7 separate regions of the Homo sapiens genome follow, and all the other regions are linked to region 4. The links are contacts of gene promoters, found by promoter capture Hi-C in blood cells and fetal thymus (Javierre and others, 2016). All regions are on one chromosome and are shown on one strand. The core of a region is centred on a gene start or on the middle of the fragment in contact, and the rest is flanking DNA. Distances in the headings are between cores, read along the strand shown. Region 1 overlaps MYCBP2 (MYC binding protein 2). Region 2 overlaps FBXL3 (F-box and leucine rich repeat protein 3). Region 3 has its middle 8.5 kb from the start of CLN5. Region 4 holds the start of RBM26 (RNA binding motif protein 26). Region 5 overlaps CLN5 (CLN5 lysosomal BMP synthase). Region 6 has its middle 14 kb from the start of FBXL3. Region 7 overlaps KCTD12 (potassium channel tetramerization domain containing 12).

Region 1 (3,740 bases), core at 497-2,996, 2.3 Mb after region 4:
AAAAAAAATATTAGTCGAGAGTGTATTTGGCTTCAGATAGGTCTTTAATTTCTTTTTTTGTGTGTCATTATTTACTTTATAATTAGGACAACTTAGAAACCTTCCGTTCTAAAACTGTCAGGCTGATTTCCCAAGGATAGCAACTTATACAAACCTAGTTTGCTTTTTAAAATTTAGTTCTGTTAACATATCTAGAAAACATCCATAAGAAGGATTTTTATTTTTCTGCTTGAACCTAGGCAAACCCACCACGAGTAGCTCAGAAGCATGTCGCTTCTGTGGTTCCAGGAGTGGAACAGAGTTATCTGCTGTTGGCAGTGTTTGTTCTGATGCAGATTGCCAGGTGAGTATATAGTGACACAGGCCATCCCATTGTCCATGTTCCCCTGTGACACCTTTACTTCATACAGAAAAGAGTTTTAGCTCAGCGTCACTCCAGCTTCCTAAATGAGTGTATTACCTATGTGAAGCATCAAATGCCTTACCAAAGTTGAAGAATGGGTCAAATAAGGCTCTCAAGCCCAAACCACACTCTTTTTGTATGTTTCTCAGTTACCATGATCATATGTATTTAATATCTACTTTTGTACTAGAAACAGTTAAAAATTTATGAACTGTATTTCCTTTATCTCTTACAGACATTATTCACTTATTTCCTTAAAATACATTTTCAACATCTAAGAGTTCTTTAATCCTGAACATATATAAACATATTCTATGTTGTCCAAATGTTTTTGGTTTCTCAATTAATAAGAATGTGGATATGCTCAGAGAGTCAAAGGTACCTTTTTAAAAAAAAAAAAAATCTGCATTTTGGTGATGCGGAGAGTGGTGACTGGGAAATTATACATTGGGGAACTTTTTTTATTTTTTATTTTTTTGAGACGGAGTCTGGCTGTGTCGCCCAGGCTGGAGTACAGTGGCACGATCTCGGCTCACTGCAACCTCCGCCTCCCGGGTTCAAGCGATTCTCCTGCCTCAGCTTCCTAAGTAGCTGGGATTACAGGCGCGCGCCACCATGCCTGGTTAATTTTTGTATTTTTAGTAGAGATGGGGTTTCACCATATTGGTCAGGCTGGTCTCAAACTCCTGATCTCGTGATCTGCCCACCTCAGCCTCCCAAAGTGCTGGGATTACAGGTGTAAGCCACGACTCCCAGCCAGGAACTTTTTGCTTTATAGCTGTGCATGATGACAAATATGAAATTATAATTCACTTATCAGCATTCCCTTTATAGAGAGTGGCATTTTTTAAAAATCGCATCAAAAAAAAAAAACTTTGTTAAGAAGCCTAATTTATATTCAAACAAAGATTAGAAATAACTTTACTTTGTTGTTACTTGGCCTGCATAGATACTTCCTGTGGGAAAGTAATCTTTGGAAATTTATATAATAAGGAAAATTACCAGAATGTGTGCTTTTTTACATACTTGTGTAACATTGTAATTCATCTTTAACAGGAATACGCTAAGATAGCCTGTAGTAAGACGCATCCTTGTGGCCATCCATGCGGGGGTGTTAAAAACGAAGAGCACTGTCTGCCCTGTCTACACGGCTGTGACAAAAGTGCCACAAGCCTGAAGCAAGACGCCGATGACATGTGCATGATATGTTTCACCGAAGCGCTCTCGGCAGCACCAGCCATTCAGGTTGCCTCAGCTTTTAAAGTATTGAATGTATCCAGACATTAAGATGGGGAATATATTTGTCAAATAAACATTGATTGAGGCCGGGCGCAGTGGCTCATGCCTGTAATCCCAGCACTTTGGGAGGCCGAGGCAGGTGGATCACGAGGTCAGGAGATCGAGACCATCCTGGCTAACACAGTGAGACCCCGTCTCTACTACAAAAATACAAAAAAATTAGCTGGGCGTGGTGGTGGGTGCCTGTAGTCCCAGCTACTCAGGAGGCTGAGTCAGGAGAATGGCATGAAGCCAGGAGACGGAGCTTGCAGTGATCTGAGATGGCACCACTGCACTGCAGCCTGGTGACAGAGCGAGACTCTGTCTCAAAAAAAAAAAAAAAAAAAAAAGCAGTTGATTGAAATCTTTTTTTATATCACTAGGCAGAAGTGTTCTTTTAATCTATACATGTACCAGGCTAATGAGGAGCAAATTCTGCCTCTTTATGCTGTGCTTTCTATGTTGCATGCTCAGCTTTAATTTGTGATTTGTGTGAACCTCTGTAATCAACAGAATGTATAAAATATTCAGAAGCCAGGGGGAAATAATTAGATTATCCCCCAGTAGCTAAGGCTCTTCTTAATTTCCAAAATCCAGAATGGTATTTTTACAACATTATATAATTGATCTATACATAATGATACATACTTCTATACATACACAAGTTACTGTGCACTAAATAGGTTTTTTTAACTTTTGCCCATTGCTTATATTTTCAGTTCTCATGATTCCAAGATAATAATAGTCTCCAAAAGAAAATCATAAGTCAGTAATTTCTTCTTCTTTCTGTGAGATACAAAATTGAATAATTTTACTTTTTTTCCTAACCTAGCTTACTTTATATAAGTGGCATGAATGTTAAAAAGCAGGAGAAGCCAAAGGCCTAGTTAATAGTATCCCAATTTACTGTAATGAAATTTAGTAAATAATAATGTCCCAATTTCAGTGTCCCAATGAATTTTCATTATAGTAAATTTCTTGATTTTTCTCTTACCTGCTTTAAGTAGTGCCTTGCATTAAATAATCTCCCAGTCACTCAACTGTTTATCATTATTATATTTGCTTATGTCCTTTTCTTTTGTTTATTTAAGCTGGATTGTAGTCACATATTCCACTTACAGTGCTGTCGGCGAGTATTAGAAAATCGATGGCTTGGCCCAAGGATAACATTTGGATTTATATCTTGTCCCATTTGCAAGGTATGGAAAGAATCTGAAATCATGTACTTTCTTTTTCTTTTGTTCTTTCTTTTCACCTTTCAAAATAAACATATGTCAGTATCTCTTGGTTTTACCCACCAGCCCCTAGCAGTTTCTTCCCTTCTCATTCATGTGGAACCTGAGAATATAATCTCTCTGTTATAATGCATCTCAAAACAGTAATTGTCCATTTAAAACTGATTACATTCTGTTAAACATATTACATGAGAAAGTTCATTTAAACATCGTGATGCATTAAAGGGCATGCATCTCTACTCTCAGACCACTAGAGAGCTCAGTTGACATAACATGACAACGGCTACCAAAAAGAAGAATGATCCTCTGGTGTTTGTAGAAACTGATACCTGCCATTAAAGAGTGAAATTGGAACCCTCAGTACCACTAGAACAGATTCTTTTAGAGCTTAGTTAAAACAAGGAGAAAGTTCTTGGCATTTTGACACATTTGTACAAAGGTAGTCAGCAAGTAGGAAGTTGTTTTGGCAAGCTAATAATGATTAACAAAAAGCTGTTTTTGAAGAATGTGGCAGTACTTTCCCTATTAATTCATCGCCCCTTTTTGTTCTATTAAGCTCTCCCTATTTTCTTATCTTCGTATTTGCAAACTAATATAAAGGGTAGAATGTGGAAAGACTTAGCACAATCATTGTCTAGATAGACTGAGGAATAATCAAAAAGATTGTAGTATTTTGCTCTCCCCTATCATATGGTGCTACAAATATTAATAGATACATGAAAGTTTTACAGCAAATACTACCTGTTCACTTCTGTCACCTGGCGTTCTGCCTTCCCCTCAAGGAAGCAAAACACACACACACACACACACACACACACACACAC
Region 2 (3,617 bases), core at 292-2,791, 2.4 Mb after region 4:
GTTACTATTTAGGATGAAAATAAATAGTATTTTTTTAAGCTTTTTTTTTTTTTTTTTTAAATCACCATACTTCTAAATTGGTATGGTTAAAGAAATTTACAGAGGCGTCTATAGGAAGTATTAAAAGAAATTCAGTAAGTAAAATAGAGTCAAGCATATTAGAAAAAAAGGGACACATAGATACTCATTTTGGGGCTTCCAGAGCAGGTTGGTGAAGTTAGAATCAAAGAAAAGTAGAGTGCCAATATTGAGAGCAGGTATAGCTTCTAAAATCTTTTGGCAAATGTTCTGGAAAGATTTAATCATGACCAAAGTTAGTCTCAGCACAGTTTAGATTAATTTACAGACTTAAAGACATCCTTTCTTTGGGTGAAAAGTTAACATATATTCTTATATATATTCTAACATGATCCTGCATATAATCAGAGATCGTGTCTCTCTCTCACAACTATTCTCTTAAAATACAAAAATAAGAAGGGTGCATTTTTAGAAAGGCAACTGGTAAAGGTGTCTGAATATGTTAGCTAATGGTTAATAGGTTAGTATCCAACAATAATTTGATATTTTTTTCCCAGAAGACACTGAAAACTAAAATATAGACACCCTTTTAAGTATCTAGTAGTTTAATGTACTAGGATGATTGAGGAGGGAATATAACTAAATTGAATATATTAACCCAAGTGGTCGTTTCAGTGGAATGTCTGTACCAAATAAATCACCAGTTGATGTCAAAGTCTTAATTGATTTTGAAACATTTTCATTACATATGTATATTTTGAGATAAAATGTTTTTCTTCACATATAAAATAAGGGAAATGGGCAGGAGAATCTGATTATCTTAATATTTTAAGATCCTAAGTACAGAAAGATCATTGTGGTACTCCGACTTAATGTGTAAAAATCTTCTGAATAGCCTCCTAAATTTTGGATTTCTATCCCTTTTTCAAATTCGGGGTGATTCTAAGTCTTCTCTTCCTGTGAGCAGTCCAGGTGATTCTGATTAAGATGGTTAAAGGAACTCACGCTAAGAAATACTAGTTACATGGTATAGCGCCACCTTCAAGCTTCAAATAGGAAATGAAACAATCTGAATTGATTTTTAGTGTACCTACCATAGCTAAAATACAAATATACATACTGACTCATATGGTATGTATGTATACCATATTAAAGGATATGTTGAACATAATTTAATTTTCTTTTTTTTCTTATCACTATGCATATATCTAGTACTAATTTGGGAACCATGAATGGAGCTAATGGAAAGAATGCTTCTTCCCTTATTAAGTGAGGCTAGGATACTTAATAACTGTTTTTCTTTTTTTCTTTTCCTTTTATGGCTTTGGTAGAAGATTGAAGTAGGGCGTTGCAATATTTTGGAAATCCCAAGAGAACTGAAGAGAACATAGAAGAAATGTTTTTGTCCAGAGCTAAATTGGGGAAATGGGGAAAGACGTCAGTGATGCACTCATTAGACTGCAAATGAAATATGTTTGTACAAGATATAATTGAGTTTGATATGAAAATATTAGGAGAAAAATATTAACATTTAAGTAGTTAAATAGTTTATCAAAATCTAGTTAACCAGTTGTTTAATCACAGTAGGGAAAAAGTAAATTAGGGAATTGTGATCAAGAAGGTAGTGTTTTGGTTGGGTGTGGTAGCTCACAGCTATAATTGGAGTACTTTGGGAAGCCGAGGCAGGAGGTTCTGTTGTGGCCAGGAGTTCAAGATCAGCCTGGGCAGCATAGCAAGACCCATCTCTACAAAAAAAAAAAGTTAGCTGGGTATGGTGGCTCACACCTATAGTCTTAGCTACTAGGGAGGATGAAACAGGATTGCTTAAGTTCAGGAGTTCAAGGTTGTAGTGAGCTAAGGAGTGCCAGTGCACTCCAGCCTGGGTGACAAGAACAGTACTCTGTCTCAAAAAAAAAAAAAAGTAATGTTTCATTATACTTTCTTGGCTCTTAGCCTGCCCTTATCCTTTTTCACTCCTGTAGAGAATTTATAAAGCTTAACTGGAGCATGAAGTTGGTTTTGTAGAGAGGAATGTGTTAGACCATGTATTAGCCTTTCTTTACTCTCCTAGATTCTTTGCCCAGTGGTTTCAACTCATATCTTAGCTCCGATTGAGAGCTGCATACTTTGAGAATGCTTTAATTCCTGTTTGCCTACATTGATTCCTTTAGATCAAATCCTGTCCAACAGATATATAACGTGTGTGTGTGTATGTGTGTATATACACATATGTACATACATACAAATATATACATATATGATGAATGATACTCATTGGTGCTTTTGTGGATCAAAATACATTAAAATAGAAGACTTGAAAATATTGTAGATAACATTTGAAGGAGTTTTAAACTTGGAATTTTAAGTATTATTTTGATTGTTTTATAATCAAATTTTCTATGAGTTTTCATATCTCAAATGAGTCTGTCATAGATTTTGAATAAATTATTAATTTTTAATGATGGTGTTAATAGTTACTATTTAGTGGTCATAACTATCAAACAGAAAAGAAATGCAGTTTAGTGTTATAGAACACTAGGGTTTCCAGATATGGCAAAATGAAGTGTCTGAGAGAGATTCTCATCCTGGGTTCCAGAATTCCTCTTTTTACTTACCAGTGGTTTCTCTGATTTAGAGACACTTATCCTGAGGCTTGAAATGCTTTTTTCCCCCACACATAAATAGACTCTTCTCAAAGATGACAGATAGTCACCTATTTTTACCATATTCCCAACAACAGAGTGAAGGGATGCCACCCCTAAAACATTTACAAAATATTAATATGTCATTATGGTTCAGATAAACTGTAGTACTAGGAAACCCCTTGATTCTCATTTCTAAAAATTGAAATAATTTTTATTTTATTTTTTTTGCTTTTCAGTCTCACTTTATCTCTGCACTGACAGTTGTGTTCGTAAACTCCAAATCCCTGTCTTCGCTTAAGATAGATGATACTCCAGTAGATGATCCATCTCTCAAAGTACTAGTGGCCAACAATAGTGATACACTCAAGCTGTTGAAAATGAGCAGCTGTCCTCATGTCTCTCCAGCAGGTATGTTGTGTTTTTTGCTAGACACATTTTAGTAAAATGCATTGCTATGTTCAAATTAGAAAAAACTATGATCATTAACCTTGAAGGTGGATTAATATGACTGCTTCATCTCTTTAAAATATTTTTAATGTAGTAATAGAATAGCATAAGTTCTGTAGGGTTACTAGCCTAGACACTGACTTTCAGCTTATTTTCTAATCTTATTTGATAAATTTATGAATAGCACATGCTAGAAAATGAACAGGAAAAAAAAGAGGAAAGGACAGTATGAGGTCAGCCTGAGGTGCTCCATTAATTACAGTAGAGTTTTTTCTCATTGTAGTTGAGCTAATAGGGTAGATTTTGAGTCAGAGCAGTCACATAATTGCTTTTCTTCTCACTATGTAGAGGGAGAAGAGTTGTACTAAGTTGTACAACTAAGTTGTACTAAGTGGTAGCCTTAGATTTTGCAAGATGATGTTTTTCCTAAGTTGAATTTTGGAGCCAAGAACCCATCAAATGCAAGAAGAGCATTATAATAGCTCTTTCCAGTTTCTCTTATATAGG
Region 3 (3,689 bases), core at 513-3,012, 2.4 Mb after region 4:
TGGGTGTACTTATATTCTCCTTGGATTTTTTCTTTCTGAAAATATTGGTTTAGATGAGTTTTAGCATTTTCCAAGGTCCAGTTTCCATGAAGCCCAGCATTTAAATCCACTTCTTCTGACTCTAGAGTCGCTTGCACTTCTTGTTCTTCCTTTCTTGAGTAGTAATCCTTCAAGTTGGCTCCTTGGTCCCAGGAACACCATAGCCAGAGGCCCCTACCTCAGAATTATTTTCAGCTTTGAGAGCCAGATGTGGCGGAAGAGGACCTCCCATGGTTGTTGGTAAACCTCCTTCAGCATTTGCTGTAGTGTCAGGAATATCAGTAAGTGGGGGCAGAGATGCAACCCCAAAAAGCTGGAACTTCTTCACTCTTCATTTATTTGAACCAAATAGTTAACAAAGTCTCTGGCAGCATTGCTCTGTGCATCTTTTTTATTGGTGGAATTTCCTATGCCACTGTAATTATACCCTTCCACCTGAACCTCACACAAGAATTTCTGCCTACTTTTGTTCCCCAATGCTCTAATTTCATAGGATGGAGTCATCTTCCTTTTGCCTCACCAGGCATACAGAAAATTTTTAATATCACCCATGATTGAAGTGTCTTCTTCAGATCAGCCTATGCTTCCTGGTTCCCAGCTCTTAGGACCGTGTGGCTCTGGCCTTCCACAAAGACAACAGAGACACGCACAACAACTTCCATAAAGGACTTGGCAAAAAAAAAAAAATTAAGTAGAAAAGAAAGGAGGTTGTTATGACACTTTATGATTTACTGTGGTTTGAGAGAAGTACTGTTTTCTGGTAATTTTGAGGCTGGTTTTATCAGTCCAGGCTAATGAATACGAGGGCAGATTAAAGTCCAAGCTAATTTTTAGTTTCTCATTTACAATCTCATTTTTTATTTTAGGCGTTAAAAGCATTATTCTGAGAAGGGGCTTCACCAGTTTGCCTAAGAGCTCCGGCCCTAGACACACTAATTTCCTACTCCTTTTTTTCTTTTTGAGACAGGGTCTCACTTTGCCACCCAGGCTGGAGTGCAGTAGTGCAATCACAGTCACTGCAGCCATAGCCTCCTAGCTCAAGTGATCCTCCCATCTCTCAGCCCCTATAGTAGCTGGACTACAGGAATGTACCAACATGCCCAAATAATTTTAAATTTTTTGTAGTGATAAGGAGTCTCACTACGTTCCCAAGCTGGTCTCGAATTCCTGGGCTCAAGCGATCCTCCTGCTTTGGCCTCCCAAAGTGCTGGAATTAAAGGCATGAGCCACAGAGCCTGGCCCTGACACAAATATTCATGTAAGAGGTTAAGAAAATCTTAAAGGTAACCAAAAATTAATGAACCCCCAAAGTGTTTCTGAAACTTGGGTATACTAACCTGTTGTTTACATGATAAACTGGGCTAAACAAATACATCAACTATACGTACATCCTATTTTCAGAGTTTCGACAATTTCACTTGCCTAAAGCATCATTTATTTTAGTTCAAAGATAATTTTATTTTCATTTTTATTTTGAGACAGGGTCTCGCTCTGTTGTCCAGGTTAGAGTGCAGTGGCATGATCATGACTCACTGCAGCCTTGACCTCTCAGGCTCAAGCGATCCTCCCACCTCACTTCCTGAGTAGCTGGGACTACAGGCCTGTGCTACCATGCCTGGCTAATTAAATAAAATGTTTTTGGTAGAGTCAGAGTCTCACTTTGTTGCCCATGCTCCTGGGCTCAAGTAATCCTCTTGCCTCAGCCTCCCACAGTGTTGGAATTATAGTCGTGAGCCACTGTGCCCGACCCAAAGATAATTTTAAAAGCATCATTTAAGTGTGAATTTAATAAAATTAAAATTTATAATATTCACTGAAGGCAGAGATTAGAGTGAGACATCTACTTAATAGGTAATACTTAAAAACAAACTGTGGAGCCATAAGGAACACCTTACCCTAATCCTAAATCAAGTGATTTGGATTTATTTTGCTTATTACATTACATTGTTTAGACAATTCTTTAATCTTGTACTTGTTTATTGAATATATTTTTTAGTTCTGTTATGATCGATTTATCAATAGCCGCAAGAAAATTGGCTTCAGAACAAAAACTCTTTTCTTTGTGTTGTTAAATAAAATGTATGAGAGGCCATGGTTTTGAACTGAGCCCCTGCATTAGGTCGCAACAGATTGAACCAAAATGGGGTCGCTCGTGCTAAGTAATCGAACTGTAATCAAACTGAAACGTAAACGGGAAAATTCCCAAAATAGACTGGCTTTTCGTAAAAACAAGAGATTCACAGCAAGCAATCAGAAAGGGCCCAGTCAGCCTAAGTCAGCATGTTAAGGAAGTCCTCTCTGCTTTAACCCTTTATAAGTAAAGTAACCTGAAGTAAACTGATGTTAACCAATTCACTTTTTGTATTCCTGTTTCCCTATTTCTGTTCAAGCTACCTTAGGAAAACCAACTGGTCTGCCAGGCTCATTGAAGCTCCCTCTATTTTGATTAGCAACTGCCTGTTTTATGAGTCACTAATAAAAGCCAATTAGACATTTTAATCAATTTTGTTGATTTTTTTTTTCTTTTTTTGAGACAGAGTCTTGCTCTGTAGGCCAGGCTGGAGTGTAGTGATGCAATCTCGGCTCACTGCAACCTCTGCCTCCCTGCCTCAGCTTCCCGAGTAGCTGGGATTACAGGCATGTGCCACCAGGCCCACATAATTTTTGTAGTTTTAGTAGAGACGGGGTTTCGCCACATTAGCCAGGCTGGTCTGAAACTCCTGGCCTCAGGTGATCTGCCTGCCTCTACCTCCCAAAGTGCTGGGATTACAGGCGTGAGCCACCGGGCCCAGTCAAATTTTTTTTTTTTTTAATCAACGTATATCAAGGAAACTAAAGGGGTACAAACCATTCAGTGAACAGAAATACACTAGTATCAAGGTTTTGACAGAGATGACATTTACTATTTTTAATCTTTCCAACAACTCTATGAAAAAGGTGCTACTTCCTACTTTCAGCCTGAGGAAACGTTGGTACAGATATTTTGAGTAATTTCTCGGGATCACATAAGGCAGTGAGGGTGGAGTCAGGTTTGATCTTGGGCACTCAGACCTACACTAAGTTATCCTGCTTTTCAAATTCACTCCTTGTCCTCCTTTTCCTCCTCATCTGCAGTGATGACGGATGCATGTGTGTTTTCCACAAGCAGTTGCTCTTTGCCCTGTCTGGTGTCACACCACGTTTACATCCTCTTTCTAAATCTAGGCATCGTTGACAGTAAATATCCTACTGGGTCAAGAGCTAGAATCACCCTCGGGGATTTACAGTACTCCATCTGTCACTTATGAGCAGCAATCTACCTCCAGGTTAAGAAAGGTAGGTTTCTTCTTGAAAGTAAATGCAGGGTTTATTCAGCACCCAGGACATAAAGGCTTAGTGAATTTTTATCAGAGGAACATGGGACTAATAATTTAAAGATCCAGTAGGGAAAGTAATGTTTGCTGGATATTGCAGATTTCATCTTTTAATAATAAAGGAATAGTTCCTCTTTTCCCGCTGGAACCATGGAGAGTGTCAAAGAGAAGAAGAAAAAGTTTCCTGCTGTACCAGAAACCCTTAAGAAAAAGCGAAGAAATTTCACAGAGCTGAAGATCAAATGCCTGAGAAAGAAGTTTGCCCAAAAGATGCTTCGAAAGGCAAGGAGGAAGCTT
Region 4 (3,413 bases), core at 413-2,912:
AGTGGTATGAGAGATGGATGGGCAAAGTTTGAGCAGTCAGGGAAAGAAGTAGAAGCGTTCTCTGTGGAAAATAAAGTGAACAAATGTTTGGAGAAAGGGAGGGTGAGCAAATCAGTTTATCTGGGGTATACAGTATTTGATAGAAGCTTTGGAAGGCTGAAGTGGAGAGCCAGAGTAATGGAGTAGCTGGTGATAAGGTTGAAAATATTGGTGGCGTCAGCCTGTGGCAAGGCTACAACAAACAGACTAAACAAATATAATTTTAACTTTCGGCAGTATTAAATTTATAAACAATTTTTATTGTAAAATACATATAAAACCTACCGTTTTCATTAAGTATATGGTCCACTGCATTAAGTACATTCATATTGTGCAACCCACACAACACCACTCATCTCCAGAATCTAAATCATCCTAAACTGAAACTCTATTATCCACTGAAATATAACTCCTCATTTCCCCTTCTCCTGGGCACCCTCTCCACCCCTGCTCTTGCTACCATTCCACCTTCTGTCTCTAGGAGTTTTGACTACTCTAGGTACTTAATGTAAGTGGAATCATAATATTTGTCCTTTCATGTCTGGTTTATTTCACTCAGCTAAATCACTTTAATCAACACCCTGGTTATTCAGTAGCTGGATTCTAATTTGTATTCTACTCTATATGCTGTATTTTAAAACAAATGTCTTGCTTTGTAGTTCATAATCTTTCCACCTAATCCTTAAAGACACTTCACTCTAGCAAATTATAAACTCAAGAGTTCCTAAGAACAATTTAGCCTATCGGTGTCTCTCATAAAGAGCTTTTATTGATCTACTTACTGAAAATGTCTTTAGATTGTGAATATTTTCATTCCATTACAGTTCATGGAACGTAGACCCTTTGTAAAATTCCACCTAGTATCTAAATAGAACTCAAGCAGGAATCAAACTTATTTGATCACCCAGGAAAATAGTTTATTTATTTGGGTTGCTAATATGAAGACTCTCTCTTTTGATACTATATAATTTCCCGATCTGAGATAGGGCTGAATTTGCTCTAAATAAAGAGAATTTTAAAAATAACAAAACTTATCTTTAGCTGGGGGAAAGTGCAGGCTGGAAACTACCTGAGAGACGTGAAGGTTCTCTCACCTTTCCCTTGTGGGCAGCCCTCAGTCATTAGGGCTCTACCAGCAAGTCAAGTACTGTTGGACAAGACACTAATCCTCTGGCGGTCTCATTGGGCTCCATTAGACCAGCCTGTGTTTACAAACCTCGTTCACATCACAGCATACACAGAATATGATACTGGTAGGGCACTTAGGTAAACTGAGGAGGTAGTGTGCTCGGCACCTGGAACCTACGGGCCGCCTGGTGTCGCGCACGCGGGAGTGTACGCTCTCAAAGAGCGATCCATCCGGCAGGACCGTTCCAGCTGACAGGCCACGGCCGTCTTACCGGGGACGAGCTGGGGTTCCCGCTGTTTCTGAAGTCAGCGGTCTTTTCCTCCTTGTAAGAAATAAGGTCTTTATATCATAAAGGTAAGCAAAGAATAAAAAGGCACAAAGGCCGCAAGCAACGCACACACGCAAAAATCGAACTACAGCACTCGACCCGCGCATTCTCCGCCGACCTTACGTCTCTCCCAGCAGGCTCCGGGAGCCACCGCGAGACTTCATCAATTCTCGCGAGATTTACCGGCAGCCATCTTCTTGGGGGTGCTGGGAGCCGGGAAGACCCCCTGAATCGTTCCCATTGAGCTGCCCTTCGCCTTCGCTTTCTTTACTTTTGCCTTTTCGACGTAGCCAACAAGCACCTGGTCCCGAGGCTGAGAGAAGGCTCGGGTCTAAGCGCGTGTCGCGCTTCCGGTCTGGGTAGATTTGCTGGGGAAGAGGGAAGGGGGAGGGCCCGGGCAAACCGTTGCTGTTTCAGCCCGGGCTGGGGGCCGGGGACGGGGAGCTCCTGGCACCCCGTGCACTTGTGGCCTGCGGCGGTCCTTGCAGAGCTGTTCGCCGACCGGGGCCCGCGGGAACCTGCCACCGGCGCCTCCCACCGCGGCCCACGCGGGCGGCGCGCGGAGGAGGGGGCGGGGGCAGCGGCGGCTGTAGCGGCCGCGACCTGGGCGGGCGGAGGAGTGTGACGGGCCTTAGGGCCGCTGTGGATGGTTTCTAAAATGATCATTGAAAACTTCGAGGCACTCAAGTCCTGGCTCAGCAAGACTCTCGAGCCCATGTGAGTATCCGGGGGATATCTCTTTGCAGGGATGGCAGTGGGAGATAGGCGGACCCAGAGATCTGTGCAGTTTCCCCAAGTGCCTGCGGTGGAGGCCGAAGCGGTGAACGGAGGTCCCAGGGTTCTGTGGCTTCTCCTCCTCGTCCACCTCGCTTCCAGATTCAGGATACCCCCGAGAGCCTGAGTCGAGCTTTATTTTATTGCTGAGCTGCTCTCGTTTTCCCGTTATATATAGACCGTCTCCAACCCCCACCCGCAATATTTTCCGGGGGCCTCAAAATCGGTTTATTTTAGTGAAACCGACTGTATTTTACTTCCTACAGATTATTTTACCTTGTTTTTCTAAATGAAGTAGACGGCCTTTATTGGGGATTCGGGCAGTTCTAGCTTAAATCACTCACGTTTCACCTAAATATAATTCCTGAAAGCAAGGCCACGTCTCCCATGTGCTGTCTGGCTCATCTGCACCTCTCTTCACTGATTGAAGATGTAACAGGTGCTGAGGTGGCCAGTAAAATTCCCCTTTCCCGCCTACGCGTTCGTTAGCTTGGAGAGGAGGAAGAAAATTGAATCTTCATCCATATGGAATATTTAGCAGTTTTAAGTGGGATGCTATAGATAGATTTTGTGTTGGGGGCTGCGGTTAGAGTGCTGAAATAGTCTTAGATTGGAAAATTTAAGGAGTGTTTTGACGACTTGTTAATACAAAATATGACATGGACCAAAGTGCTTAATCAGAATTGGTTGATTTACAATAATGCAATGGGGAAAATTCACGTATTTAATAAAGTTATTAGGTACCTACTGTATACTACGGGAGGCTTTGGGGATAGAGCTTTTAAATTCTAAAATCGACAAGACATAAATAAATCCAGATATTAATAGAGTTGTGACTATTGTAATAATAGAGAATCATGTAAAAGTGATTATGAGGGGGGCTATTTCACATTGGTCAAGGAAGGACTCTCAGAGAAGGTGACATTGGAGTAACATCTAAAGAGAAGGGACCATGTGTGTCAAAGTCTTGGAAAAGAACATTCCTTGCAAAAGGAAGAGCAAATGAAAGGCCCTGTAGCAGAAGTGATTGTGGTGTGTTTCAGGAAGAGAAAGGCCACTGTGGCTGGAAAGAGCCTTGTGATGAGGGAGAGGATATAAAGGCAACAAGTTGGACAAGTAGGTAGGGGCCACATCATGTATGGG
Region 5 (3,427 bases), core at 1-2,500, 2.4 Mb after region 4:
CTAAGGAATTCACAAAAGTAAAATCACCCCCTGAAAAACAGATGCTGGTGATTGGAGAAAAAAGAGCAGTAGAATTAAGGTGTTTTATAAACCAGAGAGTGTTTTGTTTCTGATAGGTAAAGGGATTTCTTCATATGTTATTTTAATAAAAGGGAATTTCATAGGTAAAAACCAATATTCAAAATTATAAAACAAATAGAACTGTTTGTGCACAATCACTGCATCAAAAATTTGCAAGAGACTCAACAGAAATTCTTTAGTTGGCAAATGTGGTTTGAAGGGGTAATAAAATCTTTTTATGGCTAAACCAAGAGTCTTGTTTCCTGTTGGCCCAAAAACAGATGTTTCATTTCCCAGATAAGTAGGTTCTCCACTGTAAAGAAATATTCTTGTATAGTTGGTTTCTATGTTCTTGAACTCTGCTCCAAATTCAGCCAACTTGTTAAAGGTCCTTAACACAAATTTGGAACAGTCGTAGGAATCAAACCATGTCTCTGCCCCCTTTTCTGGGCTGGCTTTTACATTCCATGTCTCATAATAAATTCCTGTTTCATTGTCCTGTTTCACCCACTTTGCCATTTGGTTGAACATGTTTCCTAGTTTAAAAAAACAAAACAAAGTCACCTAGTGAACAAAGCTAATCATGTTAATTTTTTTTTTTTTTTTTTTTAAGACAGGTCTCCCTCTGTTGCCGAGGCTAGAGTGCGGTGGTAACATCACAGCTCACTGCAGCCTTGACCTCCTGGGCTTAAGTGATCCTCCCACCTCGGCCTCCTGAGTAGCTGGGACTACAGGCGCTGGCCACCAAACCCAACTAATTTTTTAATTTTTCTTTTTTTTAATTTGAGACCAGCCTGGGCAACACGGGGTCTTGCTGTATTGCCCAGGCTGGTCTCAAATTCCCAACCTCAAGTGATCCTCCTGCTTCAGCATTCTAAAGCACTGGGATTATAGGTTTGAGCTACCATGGCTGGCCTAATCATATTAATTTTAAGTAAAATGTTCTAACTTGATTAAGACTGGATGCCTGAGTAAACAATGGTTTTGAATTTCCACACCTGCATTTCACAACAGGAATCCAAGCTCAGCCAATTTTATTCCATTCTTCAAGGCACAAGATATTTCTGAATTATAAACATTAGATATAATAGGTGTATAAGGAGAAGTCATCTTACATACTAATTCTATAATCATTTAAGCTATAGTCAAAGCGAAATTATACAAATGCAGAAGCTCTCTTTCTCTACCCAACTCACCAAATCTTGGATTCAGAGGCAAAAGAGAAAAGGAAAGCACAAAAAGAATTGCGAAAGAGGAAAAGCAGAATGGGCAAAGACAGTGTAAGGAAAATGGAGGTGTGGGAAATGTGGAGCTTCACTGTTGCAAAGCATGCTACACATAAAGTATGAATGGCTGCCTGAGGAGCCACTGCTCTAGAAGGCTGGCTATTACTGTTATGAGAACAAGCACCATACCCCATCCACCTTGTGTGTTTGGTACGTTTCTTTCTTCCCTGTACTTGGAGTTGCTGGGATGCTGCTGATGACCTCTCCACCTGCCACGTTAAGTCCTTCCAACAAATCAACTAAACTGGAAATGTTTTAGGCCGAGTTCATACTCCAGGATGGCTAACCCTCTCTTCTACCATCTTGTACTAGACCAGAAGAATCTTTCCAAATATTCAGAAAACACTACTCTGCATGGTTACAACTCTCATCTTGGGCATTTATAATGCCTAATAGAACTGGGCCCCAAACACTGCATCCTGTCACTGTGTGCAAACCTCTTTGGTTACTCCAACTTGAGTCCATAAAATAAATACTTCATGTTCTGTAAAATGAATAGAGTGACTGCCTTTATCAATTTTATGGAATTAAAATTGTAGAACAGAATAAAGCCTGTTGTATTAGAACTGGGGATACTGTTCTTAGCATTCTTCAACTTTCAAATGCCACCACTATCCTTATGAGACAAGAATGCTTCAAAACACTATTTTGTCAATCACAGGATTATTCACAAGGCAAATAAATGACTTAAAAGATTTAAGTACTGGCATATTTTGAACTATTTTACAAAAAATAGTGATCACTTATTCATATGATCATTGACTTTATGTCAGAAGGAAGGATTTTCAGATAACGATGTAGGTGGAAATGGGGAAAGGTGTGAACTGGCCTGGAATGAAAGAAAGAACCGCTAATGATGGACTTTTGTATTGTTGGTATGGTTTAAGGCACATTGATTAGAAAGTAGCAGGAAATATTAGAAAACAACATGGTGCATTCGGCTAACAGATCCTTGTTACATTTAAAAGACCTCAGTTTTATTCCTGATTCTGCTACATCCAGCTCTTTGACCTTGAGAGGCAAGTAAGTCATGTTACCTGGCTGAGCCTCAATTCCTTATTTGCAGAGAATGAGTATCTTATCCTCTCCACTGAACCGTGAGTTAACATACCTCCAAATCATTTGTAAAGAGCTATACAAATAGGAAGCATGATTACTTCCTCAAGTCCTGGGGTTCACTGAATAATTATTGTCACAACAGTGCTTTCATTTCAGATGTTTCTACTGTTCTGGGGAACAGCAATTTATAATGTAATGCTTCATAAATCATATGGACAAGCTCCTTACTTCTCAAATGCTATGGTATATTGTCTCCATTTTGCACATGAGGCAACGGGCCAATAAGATATAAAATGTGACCCAAGTCACATAAGGAGTTACCAATGAAAGGATTGCTGAACTCTTTTCATTACTAACCAACAATGCAGCACTTGCAACACAATTCCAACTTTCAGCAACTTTCCAATACATCCAAAAGAAGAAAAAAATCTCAAAGATAAAATATTTAAACTGCTCAAGAGGGTCTCAAATATAAGATCATATACATTTTGGGAGGCAATGTATCAAAGTAGTTAGGAGAATGGGCAATGGGGCGTAACTGCCAGGGTTGGAGTCCCACTTACTAAGCTGTGTAACTTTAACCTCTCTGTGCCTCAGTTTCTCCATCTGTAAAATAGGCAAAATAATAGTTACTACCTCCAGAAGTTGTGATGATGAATGATGTGATGTATGTACAGTACTCAGAACAGTGCCAGAACCAGTCTATATTAGTAGCTATTATTTTTCAACATAAAAATATCATCACTAAAATTTTTTTCAGATATAGTTAACATATCCTTTAATCAGGCATTTTATGGATTTCTCTTACTATTTCGTTTAGAAAGACCAATTTAATTGTACAAAATGTTTTATCATTTTATTCATTTTTATGATGGGAAAAGAGCATTTTTAGGGAAACATTCAAAGATCAGAGATAAGCTACTCATCACCAACAGGTGAAGTTCTGCATGAGTAATAGTTTGGGTCAGAGTTTAGTGGTTCCACCAAAAGCAAATGCAACAAAAACAAATATAAATAGATGA
Region 6 (3,559 bases), core at 50-2,549, 2.4 Mb after region 4:
TAAGCTGCCTTTTGAAGAATAAGTAGCATTTCAAGGAGCAGAGATGTGGAGAAAGGCATGAGAAATACCTAAGTAGGAAAATCTAGAATATGATCAAAGAACAGTAAGTATGAGTGTTCAAGCTTAGGATTGACTGAAAATGTTTCCAGAAAACACAAAGTACGTAGAGAGACTAAAGCTGTTACAAGAAAACTGGAGGGGAGAATGCAGTGAGGACACTGTCAGTATATTTGACTTGACACTGTCAGTATATTTGACTTAAATTCACAGGCCACAGGAATGAAACTAACCTTGAGAATGCCACACAGATAAGAGACTTTATGGACACTTAATAGCTGCGAAGAATACCATCTTGCGTCAGTTAACTTTGCTGGCAAACTGGTCAGCTCAGTTTGTAAATCGTAGAGGAAAAGAAACAAACTATTGAGATGGCTTGGCTAAAAAAGCCATCTCAAGTTATGAAAGGGATAAAATCAACAAAGCTGTGTAGTGAATACTCACAATGACTTCAACTTATCTTCATTTATGAGGAAGTCACTTTTAGTCAGGATCTCTAGCACCTCAAAACCAGAGAACATAAACATCTTAGCAATAAATTATGACAAAGCACAGGAAGGAGTGGCTTTGGCAGGCATTTTTAGCTCAAGCATCCTACACACAAGGACCATCCTTCAAACACTGCATGTAACATCCAAGGCAGGAGACAGAAAGCAGAATCACAGTGGTAGATGTCAGTGAATCTTCCTGGAAAGAAATTGTTTTTCCGTTATATTTTCAAGCCTAGGAAAAGCCATTTTTCTTAGTATTATGGCTAGACTGTTTAGGCCTAAAATCTCCCTATTTTATCAATAAGCTTATTTGGTTTTGGTTTTTGGTTTTTTGAGTTTTTTGGGTTTTTTTTTTTTTTTTTAAGAAAGGGTCTCACTCTGTCGCCCCAGCTGGAGTGCAGTGGCGTTATCTCGGCTCGCAGCAACCTCTGCCTTTTGGGCTCAAGTGATCCTCCCACCTCAGCCCCAAGTAGCTGGGAGTACAGGCACGAGCCACCATGCCCAGCTAATTTTTGTAATTGAAACAGGGTTTCACCATGTTGGCCAGGCTGGTCTCAAACTCCTGAGCTGAAGCGATCTACCTGCCTCAGCTAGGATTACAGGTGTGAGCCACCGCACCCAACCTCAATAAGCTTATTTGATAAAATATATGCAATGCTCCCTTTATTCACTTTTCATTCAGAATGTTTAGTAATTTGTATTGTTTTTCAGATTTTCAGCCCAATATATCTCCCTGCCCACTGTGTCACTGTATTCTACCTATACATCATCACGTGTTTCTGCTATTGGCTGTATGATGGAACACTGCGGCTCATTTTCCTGAAAACTGCCGATAGTGCATAGAGTGCTGGGATGGAAACCAGAAGCTTTGAATTCAAGCCTTGGTTCTGCCTTGTTTTTGCTTGGGTGGCCTTGAGTCAGCCACATACCTTTTAAAATCTCAATTTATTAGAAATTATTCCAAATCAAAATCAAATGAGAAGGTATATACAAAAGTGCTTTATCCCACAATAAACTATTCAAGAGAGAGCAAAGGAGAGGACATTTACTCAACACCTCCTAAAAGGCAGCCAGTGAAATTAGGCATTTTATTTAATCCTCCTGGCAACTCTGAGAGTAAAGCATTATTAATCCCATTTTGGCTGTTTAAAGAAATTATTTGCACTAGATTCCAGCTGTAGTTTAGCTTCAGAAAAAAAAATCCTGAGATGTGAATTCACAGCTTTCTGGGTTTAAAGCCCAAGCTCTATCACATCATGCTATTATTGTTACATTACTGCTAGTTCTATGAAAAGAAATACTAATTTATGAAATACATCTTATCCAAAATGGTTGGGACCAGAAGTGTTTCTGATTTCGGGTTTTTTCAGGTTTGGGAATATTTGCATTACCAGTTGAGCATCCCAAATCTGAAATCCAAAATGCTCCAGTGAGCATTTTATTTGGGTATCAGGCATGTCAGTACTCAAAGTTTTAAATTTCAGGACACTTATCGTATGGCCAAGGTTGCACAGGGGACAAGACAGCATATGCCTCCAAGAGTGTTCAGTGTCGTCAGGAGGTACCTCCACCCAGATTTCCCTTCAGGGGAGGCCCCACCTCAAGGAGTCCAGTTAGCTGACAGCCTCCAGCTTTAATCACCCCCACATATGACCCAATGTCACACTCCTCCAGGGCAGCCCCAGCCTGTGATAGAGTTCAGATGGGGTTCTCGGGCCTGGCCATTTCTGCCCAAGCGGCACTCCTGCGTGCGCGGTCTTGCGTAAGAACTCAGGCCGACTGAGACTGTCTTACAGCTGCCCTGCAGTCGGAGGCTTTTCCTACCCAATCTTTCCTTCTCTCTTCTTTCCTAGATGCCAGACCTGCATCACAGTCTAATGGCTCTCCCTGCCCACTCCTGCTCCCTCATCACTTTATCTTTCATAGGGATTACCCCCAACAGATTTTCTGCACTTCTAACTTAATCTTGGCATCTGCTTCCTAGAGGACCTGCCTGACACAGGAGGGTAATACATTTTAAATGACTTACTTATGGCTTCATTTCTCAAATGTCTTAGGGTGGCTTAGAAAAAAATAACAAGACTACAAAAAGATATACGCTGGAGGGAGTTACAGTGAAGAAAAATTATGAAAGAAAAAGCCAAGGTTAAAGATTAGTGTCTCGCTGTAACCATACAATGTTATCAAATTGCTCAAGAAAAGGCCATCAATTTTACAGTAAGTTTCTCCAGTAACAAGCAAGGTCAGAGATATCTTCATTTAAAACATACAATGTTCATCTGTTAATTTAAAAAAAAAAAGCCAACGCAGATAGTCTTTCAGGATAGATCAGTTTTGACAAGCAAAAGTGGGAAAGGGCATTCCAGGGAGAGATGATGGTGAGAACTGAGGCATTAACGTGTTCCTCAGAAGCACCAGGTAAGCTGTTTTGCTTCGTTAATTTAATAAATATTTGAACACCTGGTCTAGGTCCACACTTGACAGTACACTCTCATGAGGGTGTTTAGTAACCACGACTTCTACAGAGAAGGCGCTTGATGAATGAACTGCATGAGAGTCTGTCAAGATGTGTGGCGCGCTCTGCCAGGTGGTAGGATGAGACAGCCATGGAACACAAATACAGAATCCTGCAAATAATTCAATGTTATTAAGGACCTTAATCCAGGTTTTATAACCATTAGACAAAGCATTTATTGAGGGCTTACCGTGGCCCTGCACAGTCATGGCAGGCAGAATAACCATCCCCCCAAATCTGTCCACGTCTTAGCCCTTGGGATGTGAAGATGTTGCCTTACATGGCAAATGGACTCTGCAGATGCGATTAACGGTACAGATCTTGTGATGGGAAGAGTACACTGGATTGACCCCATGGGCCCATGTAATCACAAGAGTTCTAATATGGGAAAGAGAGGCAAGAGGGTCACGGTCAGAGAAGGAGATGTGAGGATAGACGCAGAGGCCAGAGATAGAGACTTGAAGATGCTACACTGTCGGCTTTGAAGATGGAGGAA
Region 7 (3,689 bases), core at 529-3,028, 2.5 Mb after region 4:
ATTTAGTTTTTAAAATAGTAAACTGAATATTTTTGTTGTAAGCCTATCAGAGTCAATCCTTCGTTTGGAATTGTTTTCCTGTTTTTCCTTACTATAAATCATTTAAAAACTGAATTCATTTTCTTAGATGGCATAAGTCTGTCTCTTGAGAAATAAGTAAAATACTCCTATTTTCAGTATCTGTAGCACCTGAAATAGGTCTTTGTATAGCCAGAAACAAGTTATGTTGAAGTTAGCTTTTCTTTGTCAACAGTTTTGGACAATAAAAATCTGAAAGTATTAACACTTGATTTTCTACTGGGGCCCTTCAAACTTGGTTGGAAGAAATTCAACCAGAATATCTACATTAGAGTATAATCATGTGTGGTAGGAAGATGGACTAGTTAATCAAGATTTGTTGTCACTTAAATTTTTTGTGATTTTTTTCCAAGCCAGTTTTTTTAAATTCTAAATGTGTTTTGAGGTATGGGTACATTAATTGTAATGTAAACTATTATACAACTGTTTTTGCGACTTTATAGGCAGGTAAATTTTGCTATTACTATTGAATACAAATGACAATTCATTTATGACCACTCAAACAGCGTTAGTAACCATTTAGTGACAAAGGATTAAAACATCCATCTGGATGTTAATTTTGAAGATGTAAATTATATGTTGTTTAAATTTTTCCAGGCATCTGAAAACCTTATCTGCTAGACAATGTAAGATTCACACAGAGTTATCTGGGATTCTGATTTTTTAAATAGTACATATCATTAAACCATTTTCTCTAAATGTAAGAAGAGCAGAAAAAATCTTATAAGATTATCAGATTTTTCTAATGACACAGAAATGTAAGAAAAAAATCCCTTTATATTGAAAAAAGATGCAGTCAAAGTCTTTTCAGACATGCCCAAACTTTGAGAATTTCTTCAACCATCTAATGCTATAAAGATTTTTGTTCTTCCTGTTCACAACCAGTTGTATAACAGAAATACTAGCTACTGTTTTCCTTCCTGTGTGTGAAGTAATGAATCATTGATTATGTGACTTGTTATGTATTCAATTAAACACTAAAGAATAAAACATTCACTCCTTTAATTATTCCTCTTGGCTCCTTGGCATGGATTGGCTTGAACACTGGTCTAATTTCATTTACGGGGTTCTCTAAATACTGGCAACACTTCCCAAATTATTGTGGGACTACTGCTGAGCATTATGCCATCAGAACTCTTCACCAAGGAACCGGCCAGCAGGACCAAGCACAAATAGCTTCTTTCCCCAGAGTTTATTGTCAAGAATGCCCAGGCGGTCTGGTACTTAATATGGAAGAAATGTTTTTCACAAACATTTTCTTTGACTTCTCTGCAGCATATGCCACTTGCTGTGTATAGGGACAGGGAAATAGAAGCTTCGAGATGTGCTTTACTTAAAAGTACAGTTCATGAGAAGGTTCTAAAAAATGTTGGGAAAGAGGAGCTGCATTTTTTGATGTGGGGGCACTTTACTGCCTCATCTCTAGTGGTTGATGTTCCTCCTCTCTAAAGAAGGCACAGTGCTGCTAAGATTGAGAAATCACAGAAACAAGTCGTCTGGGTTATGGCACCGGAAGCCATGAGTCAGGCGGGTAGAGTGAGCCAGGCTTCACCCTTCCTCTTTCCTTTTGCCTGTACTTCCTCTGGATAGCTTTTGTTTTAAAAGTGTGTGTGTGTAGACACATTATTTTTTGAAAATGTAATACAGATTAACCCTCCTCCAGTAACCGCTAGTTTTTCCTAGAGGCCTCCCTTTTTTTTTTTTTTATCTTTTCTGTAGAAATCACACCTGTTCTGTGTCTTGCTTTCTGTTTGTTAACTACATATCCTGGAGCTACTGCAATGCATGAACATGTGGCAATGATCTACCTCATTTTGTTTGATAGCTACATGATATTCTACATGACACGCCATTGTCTAGATGTGCTGTCGTTTATTTTGTAAGTCCTTTATTGATAGGCATTTAAAATTCCGGGTATTTTTTTTCTACTCCAAAGAGTGCTGTACTGAATGTCTTTTTACATATATGCAAATATATTTGAGTCCAGCTTTTTTTGTATGAAGTGATGCCAAGAGAGAAATGACCAGGAGGTACTTTTTCCTTCTTGAGGAACTATGGAAACAGTGGGATTCACTGGAAGCTTTTTAGGAATTGGTGGGGGTGGTGTGAAATCACTCTAGAGTCATTAGGTATATAAGTGTGAAGTTTTATGTAGCTTTTATATTGGAAACAAGGCCCCTTCCCTTTGTTTTATACCTCCTTTCAAATTTTAGATTTTTTCAATGAATTATGACCAATATTTTGGTTTTAGGTATACAGTATATCTAGAGGAGCCATGTTATATCCCATACTTCTTAAGGAGGCACCTCGGGGGGATTTGGAAAAGGATGGGAAGTTATAGAAGAAATATGGGGTGCCTTCTGGAATCTCAGTTTTACTAATTAAGATATGTACCTATGGATAGGGGAATTAGGTCCTTTCACTGGTAAGTGATTTATAAAAATCTGTTTCATTTTATGGAAGGATTGAGAAATTTTCATGAATTTAAGAGAGAAAACCCTACATGTTAAAGATACTCTGAGCTTGTAGTATCCTAGGAATGAGTGCACGCTCTTCTGCCGTTAGGAACTTGGCGATGGTGGTAGTGGTAGAGTTGAGAACTTCTGTTGGCATATACTGGGCTTGATTTTTGAGAGATAGTTTAGGGAAAACGTCAGCCTCCTAAGTTCTCTGCTTTACTATGCTCAGGTAAGAAGTTTCAATGTCCCTCTGGGGCCCAAGGGCACCTTCTTTACCCTCACAGATCTCCTAAGAGTAGTGGATGGGGCGAAGTAGAAAAGAGGTCATCGAGGCTGTTTTAGGCCATTAACTCTTAACTTGGCTGCTGCAACTTTCCCCCTTGTAGAGCAGCCATTGAGGATTCATTCATTCAAAATCTCTGAGTACTTACTGTGTGCCACACTGTGCCAATCTGATAGGGAAACGGGGATGACTAAGACACAGAAGTGCTGAGGATCAGTAAGAGAGCCAAATAATGATAGAATGACTTGGAAATCAGGGCTAAGATAGTCTGAGCAACTGAGGGAGTCAGAAAGGGAGATACCTAAGTCAGGTCTTAGGCTTGCTAGAGGAGGAGACACCAGAGCAAAGGCTTAAAAGTGAAGAAGAGAAAGAGGAGAGGCCTGCTAAGTCCAGGTCAGCTTAGTGAGGAATGATCGGGAGACAGCAAGAACTAGAAACAGCTCAGTGTTGCTGAAACCTCATGGCAAAAGCAAAAAGCCCTCTATGCCCACCAAAAAAACAACCAAACCAAACCAAAACCAACCAACCAAACAAAAGCATAGAGAAGCAGTAAGAGCCAGATCAGGGTGAGCCTCACGTAACCCATTACAAGATTTGAACTTTGGTTCTCAGGGTTTACTGAAGAATTTTAAGCAAGGTGTAAAGTAATCAGAGAATTCCATTCTGCAGAGAACGTTTGGGGGCTCTGCGAGGAATGGGTTTGATAGGCATGGCCAGGAGTCAGAAACCAGGAAGGAGGCTGTTTATGCGAGTCCAGATGAGAGGACCACACGAAGCCATGTGCAGATCTCCTGGCTGCAATGGGGGTGGTGGGGAGTGGGTCAGGTTTTGTTCATCTTTATTCTCCCTTCAAACCTCTCAGGTTATGC

The links. Contacts are between HindIII fragments. The CHiCAGO score rates a contact against its expected background, and 5 or more counts as called.
Region 1: a contact is called between a fragment that was not itself captured here and the fragment with the promoter of RBM26 in region 4, in 2 of 17 cell types (total B cells and naive CD8 T cells). The highest score is 9.5, in total B cells.
Region 2: a fragment that was not itself captured here is called in contact with the fragment with the promoter of RBM26 in region 4 in 7 of 17 cell types (non-activated CD4 T cells, naive CD8 T cells, total CD4 T cells and 4 more); the score reaches 11.1 in non-activated CD4 T cells.
Region 3: a contact is called between a fragment that was not itself captured here and the fragment with the promoter of RBM26 in region 4, in 1 of 17 cell types (total CD4 T cells). The highest score is 5.5, in total CD4 T cells.
Region 5: a contact is called between a fragment that was not itself captured here and the fragment with the promoter of RBM26 in region 4, in 3 of 17 cell types (non-activated CD4 T cells, naive CD4 T cells and naive CD8 T cells). The highest score is 6.6, in non-activated CD4 T cells.
Region 6: a contact is called between a fragment that was not itself captured here and the fragment with the promoter of RBM26 in region 4, in 4 of 17 cell types (naive CD4 T cells, total CD4 T cells, naive CD8 T cells and 1 more). The highest score is 9.6, in naive CD4 T cells.
Region 7: a fragment that was not itself captured here is called in contact with the fragment with the promoter of RBM26 in region 4 in 3 of 17 cell types (total CD4 T cells, non-activated CD4 T cells and activated CD4 T cells); the score reaches 7.1 in total CD4 T cells.

The regions. Positions count from the first base shown.
Region 1 is chr13:77,056,126-77,059,865 of GRCh38, reverse strand. MYCBP2 (MYC binding protein 2) reads left to right here. Exons shown (of 83, transcript NM_015057.5): 77 at 240-343; 78 at 1,460-1,648; 79 at 2,773-2,880. Among named protein-coding and RNA genes, the nearest start is that of MYCBP2-AS1, 18 kb to the left of the region's middle. The HindIII fragment of the contact is 8,850 bases long and covers 1-3,740 here.
Region 2 is chr13:77,014,863-77,018,479 of GRCh38, reverse strand. FBXL3 (F-box and leucine rich repeat protein 3) reads left to right here. Exons shown (of 5, transcript NM_012158.4): 4 at 2,900-3,071. Among named protein-coding and RNA genes, the nearest start is that of FBXL3, 10 kb to the left of the region's middle. The HindIII fragment of the contact is 949 bases long and covers 1,067-2,015 here.
Region 3 is chr13:76,981,770-76,985,458 of GRCh38, reverse strand. It overlaps the pseudogene RPL7P44 and the pseudogene DHX9P1. Among named protein-coding and RNA genes, the nearest start is that of CLN5, 8.5 kb to the left of the region's middle. The HindIII fragment of the contact is 3,853 bases long and covers 1-3,688 here.
Region 4 is chr13:79,404,504-79,407,916 of GRCh38, reverse strand. RBM26 (RNA binding motif protein 26) reads left to right here and starts at 1,662. Exons shown (of 22, transcript NM_001366735.2): 1 at 1,662-2,213. The coding sequence starts at 2,143. RBM26-AS1 (RBM26 antisense RNA 1) reads right to left here and starts at 1,608. Exons shown (of 7, transcript NR_038991.1): 1 at 1,440-1,608. RefSeq lists enhancers at 1,377-1,676, 1,006-1,997 and a silencer at 1,907-2,106. The HindIII fragment of the contact is 7,810 bases long and covers 149-3,413 here.
Region 5 is chr13:76,997,627-77,001,053 of GRCh38, reverse strand. CLN5 (CLN5 lysosomal BMP synthase) reads right to left here. Exons shown (of 4, transcript NM_006493.4): 4 at 1-596. The coding sequence ends at 85. Among named protein-coding and RNA genes, the nearest start is that of CLN5, 7.3 kb to the right of the region's middle. The HindIII fragment of the contact is 4,399 bases long and covers 1-3,427 here.
Region 6 is chr13:77,039,774-77,043,332 of GRCh38, reverse strand. No RefSeq gene overlaps it. Among named protein-coding and RNA genes, the nearest start is that of FBXL3, 14 kb to the right of the region's middle. The HindIII fragment of the contact is 234 bases long and covers 1,183-1,416 here.
Region 7 is chr13:76,877,569-76,881,257 of GRCh38, reverse strand. KCTD12 (potassium channel tetramerization domain containing 12) reads left to right here. Exons shown (of 1, transcript NM_138444.4): 1 at 1-1,083. Among named protein-coding and RNA genes, the nearest start is that of KCTD12, 7.0 kb to the left of the region's middle. The HindIII fragment of the contact is 765 bases long and covers 1,396-2,160 here.